Linked DNA regions of Homo sapiens: region 2 is linked to region 1. The links are contacts of gene promoters, found by promoter capture Hi-C in human tissues and cell types (Jung and others, 2019). All regions are on one chromosome and are shown on one strand. Each heading gives the region's core, a stretch centred on a gene start or on the middle of the fragment in contact. The rest is flanking DNA. Distances are from core to core; before and after follow the strand shown. Region 1 holds the start of CDH23 (cadherin related 23). Region 2 overlaps CDH23 (cadherin related 23).

Region 1 (2,700 bases), core at 34-2,533:
CTCCATCCTATTCCTAGAAACTATTTCAGTTAGCTAGCACATAGCAGTGACTGTGAATGAATGAATGAATAATGAATGAGCGAATGGTAAGGAACTGGAGCTTTGGAACCAGATAGATTCTGGGTTCAATACCCGACTCCACCACAGGGGCAAGTCCCCAACCTCCTAAAGCCTGTTTCTCACTGTAAAACTGGGATAATGGCAGGGCCCACCAGAAAGACTTTATTGAAGATAGAATGAGTTGAGGCCCAGAAAGTCTCAGCCCAGAGCCTGGCTCCAGGCAGGTACTGTCAATGTACTGACTGGAACAGTGACAGCTCGGAAATCCTGTCATGTGAGAAATAGTTTTAAAAAATCAGAATGCTTAGCCCCGGGGAAGTAAAGATCAAAGGTAGGGGATAAACCTCTTCCATTACCTGCATATGGACCCTTTCTTGATCCAGCTGTCTCAGAAAGCCATAAAGTCTCTGTCCCTATAGGTGTGCAAAAAGGAGCCGGGAGACCATGACTCGGGCACTGCAGACGGAGCTCCCGCAGGGGTGAGGGCGCCTAAGTGACCTCACGGGTCTCCTCCAACCCGGGGTCCTCCATTTCTAAGCACTTGGAGGCCTCTTGAGCTCTAGTGAGGGAGGAGGCGCAGATGGGAGCGCACGAGTCGGGTGGGCAAAGGCAGCTGGTTGGAGAGAAGCGTAGGCCAAGAGGCCCCAAGGACTAGAGGGACTGCTCAGCGACTCTGGGAGCAGAGAGGGGGCGCTTAAAGCCAACAGATGGCGCGGGCTCACCTAGGCCGAGCGCCCGCTCGCCCGCCCGGGCTTCCCGGGAGCGTTACCTCGCTCTGCCTGAGGCGCGGGGCGGACGAGACGCTGGGGGCCCCATCCCCCTGCGCGCCCCTCTGCGGGACGGCTGGCGGCCTGGCGGGGCACTGCTCTGTCTCGCACCTGGGGCCTCTTCCGCGGGCTTCCTCCCTGCCCCTTTGGGGGATTCGTAGAGTTGCCACAGCAGCCGGTGCCATGACATCGGCAGAGGGCAGCTTCGCCAGCACTGAAATATTCATGCCCTGAGCGCCCGGCGGGGCTCGGCGCCGCTCCCGGGGGTCCGGGCGGGGCCGGGCGGGAGCTCGGGGGTCCTGGCGGCCTGAGGGGTGGGGGAGCGCCGAGCGCGGGCGGGCGGGCGGGGGCCGGGCGAGGCGGGAGGTGAGGGAGGGAGCTGCGGGAGGCGGGGTCTGGACGGCGGGGGCCGAGCGGGGCGGGGGCCGAGCGGGGCGGGGGAAGCAAGGGAAAGTTGATCGCGGACTTGAGCGGCGGCGGCGGCTCGGGAGAGAGGGACGCGGGCTGCAGGCGCGATGCTTGGCTAGAGGACGCGTCCGACGGCGGCCGGACGCTGAGGTGGTCGGGGCTAGTCAGCCCGGCCTGGGCATGGAGCGCGGGGTGGCAGAGCCTCTGGACGTTTGGGGCGCGCCCAGTCCGAGCCCCCGGCGCGCCTGAAGTTGCGAGCGGCGAGCGGCGAGCGGCGAGCGGCCCGCGGAGACCCAGGAGCTGCCGGCACGCCGCGGATGAGCCTTCGCGCCGGCGGGAAGACGCGGCGGTGGCCAGGGCCAGAGCAGGCGGCCCGCGGGGGCCGATCCGGCGGAGAGCAGAGCCCGAGGCGAGGCGAGGCGCGGCGCCGCTGCACACACGCACACGGTACCCGGAGCCACGCACCGCCTCTTCCCTCCTCGCTTCCCTCTCCTTCCCCTCGCCGTTCGCCCGCCGCGCGGCGGGGAAGTTGGTGGTGACCGCGGCTGCCGAACCACTTGTTCCCAGCGCGGCCATCGCCCGTGGCGGGCGCTCGCGGCATCCTTCGGTCCCAGGCCCCTGGCCCTAGCCTCGCGCCCCGCTCCGAGCTCCCCGACGCGCGGCAACTTTGATTCCTGGGAACTCGAATTCCATTCGCGTTGGCCTTGGGAGGACAGGCATCCCATCCCCCATCCCCGGTCCTGGGACCGCGAACATTTGGGGGCTTTGCTCTCGGCGCTACGGAGAGGGTCCAGGTCTGGGGTGGAGAGATTTTCGAGAGTGGAGCGCGTTGGGATCCAATCCCCTCCCCTTCTGAGCCCTGGGTCCCCATTTGGACAGTGGGGATGGGGTGGGGCGCACCCCTACTGCGGGCTGGGCAGAGGCGCTGAGGGGAACTAAAGGCACGTAGTTCTCCCCTCCCCTCATCAAGTCCCTGTGCCCGCGGGAGACCCCAGGGGACTTACACATCCTCCCAAATTCGGTCCAGCTATGGGAAGACGCGCCCCTCGAGGAGCCGGGAGCCTTTTGCGGCTCTCGCTTCGCCTTCCTGGCCCTGGAACTGGTCCGCTACGAGCGGTGCTGGCTGCCCCCAGGAGCTGGCACCCGGGAGCACTGCCCCTCATCTCCACCGTAGGTCAGCCCAGGACTCGAGCAGAGCCCGCGTGTTCCAAGGCAGTGACGGCGCCAGCCGGCGGGGACTCTGCCTGGCTTTCTCGGAGCGGGCACCTAGAGAGGCTGCCTCCGTGCTGTGAGCGGAGATCCGATGCCAGCCGCCGCCCCACTGCGACCCCAGCCCCAGCCCTAGTGCTGTCAGCGGTCCACTGGGAGGAAATTAGCCTTTCCTCGGTAGTAATACTCCCCCATCCTCCCTAGTAATTCAGAAAGCAGAGCCTTCTTTTTCTACGTCCTTTGCCCTCTCAGACCA
Region 2 (2,700 bases), core at 193-2,692, 130 kb after region 1:
CTGACGACCAGAAGCCCGGAAGGCTGGCGGGGTCTCATCCCGGCCCCCTCTCCAGCCTCCCCTTAAAGATTCTTTCCCCTGCTCTTCTGTATTCCTGCACCTCCACCTTCTTTGTGGTCCCCAAGGGCACTAGGCCACAGGGCCTTTGCACGGCCTTTCTACTTCCCTGGAACACATCACCCTCCCCGTTTTTCATGAACTCCCAGCTTCCCCTGGGATCTTCCATTCCTAATTCATCCCTCCTCCCAATGCAGAAAGATTTTTCTGTTCTTGGGCTTTCAGAGCAGCAGAGCTTCTATAGCTTTGACCTTGAGGTGTAATTACTCACATATATGCAGGACTATTTGATCACTGTTAGCTTCTTACGGGTGACTGTGAGCTCTGTGAAAGCAGGGGCAGGGACATGTGGCTTTCCACCGTGGACGGACCCTCAGGGCCTGGCGCACGGTGGGGACTCAGCGGATTTGTTGCAGGATGCCGTCCCTGCCCTCAGGGAGCTTCCTCCCGCTCCTCTGTAGCCCATATCCTTTAAGAGAGGAATTCCATGAACCAGCCCTTGGTGTGCTCTCTTCCAAGACCCGTGCTGAAGGTAGCTCAGAAGTGCGGTTCGAGCTCCCTGCCAGGCCGTGGGAGAAGGGCTGAGTCTGGCCTCGTCAGTCAAAGGCAGCTAGGGGCAAAAGGAGGATGCCTTGCTCAGGGCTACTGGAGGAAATCGCGTCATCTAATGGGGCTGGAGTGTGGTAAGCAGAGTAATGCCCCCTTGCCCACCAAAGATGGCCACATCAGAATTCCTGGAACCTGTGACTGTGTGACCCCACATGGAAAAGGGGATTTTGCGGTTAAGGACCTCTCTGTGAGGCCTCTGTAATCACCAGGGTCCTTATAAGAAGCAGGTAGGAGGGTCAGAGGAGAAGACATGACAGTGGATGCAGAGGTGAGTGTTGGGATCTGAGGTTGTTATGTTGCTGGCTTTGAGGATGGAGGAAGAGGACAGGAGCCAAAGAATGTGGGTGTCCTCTAGAAACTGAAAAAGGGAAGGAAACAGATTTCCCTTGGAGCCTCCAGAAGGAACGCAGCCCTGCGACACCTGTATTTTATTTCATTTTATTATTTACTTATTTTCTGAGACAGAGTCTTACTCTGTCACCCAGGCTCTAGTATAGTCTCAGCTCACTGCAACCTCTGCCTCTTGGGTTCAAGTGATTCTGCTGCCTCAGCTTCCCAAGTAGCTGGGATTACAGGCGTGCACCACCATGCCCAGCTAATTTTTGTATTTTTAGTAGAGACTGGGTTTCACCATTTGGCCAGGCTGGCCTTGAACTACTGACTTCAAGTGATCTGCCCACCTCGGCCCCCCAAAGTGCTGGGATTACAGGCGTGAGCCACTGTGCCCGGCCGACACCTGGATTTTAGCCCCCTGAGGCCCATGTTGGACTTCTGACCTTTAGAACCACAAGGTGATAAATCTGTGTTGTTTTAAGCCACTACGTATGTAGTAACTTGTTACAGCAGCCATAGGAAACTGACTCAAGGTGCTTTGGAGGCAGAGCAGTGGGACATGTGTTCTAAAGTGCACCCCTGAAGCACCCCCAGGCTCTACCTGCCTTGCTTCTCTGTGGCCTTCAGGCAGGAGGATGGAAGCAGGTTGTCTGCACAACAGTGGGAAGCTGGTGGTTTTTGGGAACAATCCACGAGGGCCAGCCGTGGGCAGAGCATCCAGGACTAGGGAGGGTAGCTGGCTGGGAAGAGGCCCCATGGAAGCCAGTAGGGGTGGAGTGGTAGAGTCCAGGAACCCAGAGCTGCCAGCTGCAGGCAGGAACCCATACCATAGGTGGGGAGAGAGGGAGAGATGGCAGGTACGGGGTGCTGGTGGTGCTACATCCAACAAGTGGCCACCACACTGCTGGGACACCACAGAGGAGGGTTCAGCGGGGGCCTGAGCATCCGTGACCCTCCTGGGAAACCTGGCTTCTTGGCAGCAGCCCAGAAACCAGAGAAAGAGGCGTCCCTGCTTGGCTTGCTACAGCAGAGTGGCAGAGGCATGCTAGAGTGTTGCTTCCATGTGCCAACCCCACCCTCATTCATTCATTCATCTACTCACTCACCAAACATTGCCTGAGGGCCTGCTGGGTGCCAAGCCCATGCTTGGTGCTGGGAACCCAAGAGGAATGAGTCCCTGGCCTCCAGCAGATCCTGGCTGAAAGCCTTCACCCACAGCAACAGGATGCAAGACCCAGTGCTTGAGGACCCAGATAGCCACCAGCAAAAGCTCGGCCCTCTGCATCGCTGAGGGGGTGGAGCAGGGGGTTCACCCATCCCAGCTTTGGTGCTACAAGAAAGCCGGGCCCTGCCTTGGTTCCCAAGTCCCTGGTCCTCCTGTGGCATGTATCAAGCACATCTTCCTCTAGGCGGTAGAATTGGGTCAAATGAGCTTCAGATGAGCCTAGCAAAGTGGCTGTCCCTGTCCTGTCCCACCCCTACACTTGCCCCCACTGCAGCATCCAGCGCTCACCTGTGGCTCTCCACGTGGGCCCAGGAGGCAGGAAGAGGGACTGCCTGGGTCCAAGGTGAGCAGAGGGACTTCCCCCGTTTCTGAGTTATCTGTCTGCTTCTCTATTTCTGAGGTGGGCGGAGGCCCCAAAAGATGGAAAAGGGCTGCCTGAAGTTAGGGGCATGAAGGAGGAAGGGGCAGGGCACAGG

The links. The method cuts DNA at HindIII sites, captures the fragments that hold promoters and counts their contacts. A contact is called where the count stands out against the background at its distance.
Region 2: a fragment that was not itself captured here is called in contact with the fragment with the promoter of CDH23 in region 1 in 8 of the 25 tissues and cell types used here (H1 embryonic stem cells, adrenal gland, bladder and 5 more).

What each region holds. Positions count from the first base shown.
Region 1 is chr10:71,395,637-71,398,336 of GRCh38, forward strand. CDH23 (cadherin related 23) reads left to right here and starts at 1,284. Exons shown (of 70, transcript NM_022124.6): 1 at 1,284-1,682. RefSeq lists a silencer at 803-892 and an enhancer at 1,576-2,087. The HindIII fragment of the contact is 12,378 bases long and covers 1-2,700 here.
Region 2 is chr10:71,523,810-71,526,509 of GRCh38, forward strand. All of the region lies in intron 6 of CDH23 (cadherin related 23), which reads left to right. Among named protein-coding and RNA genes, the nearest start is that of CDH23-AS1, 13 kb to the left of the region's middle. The HindIII fragment of the contact is 8,250 bases long and covers 1-2,700 here.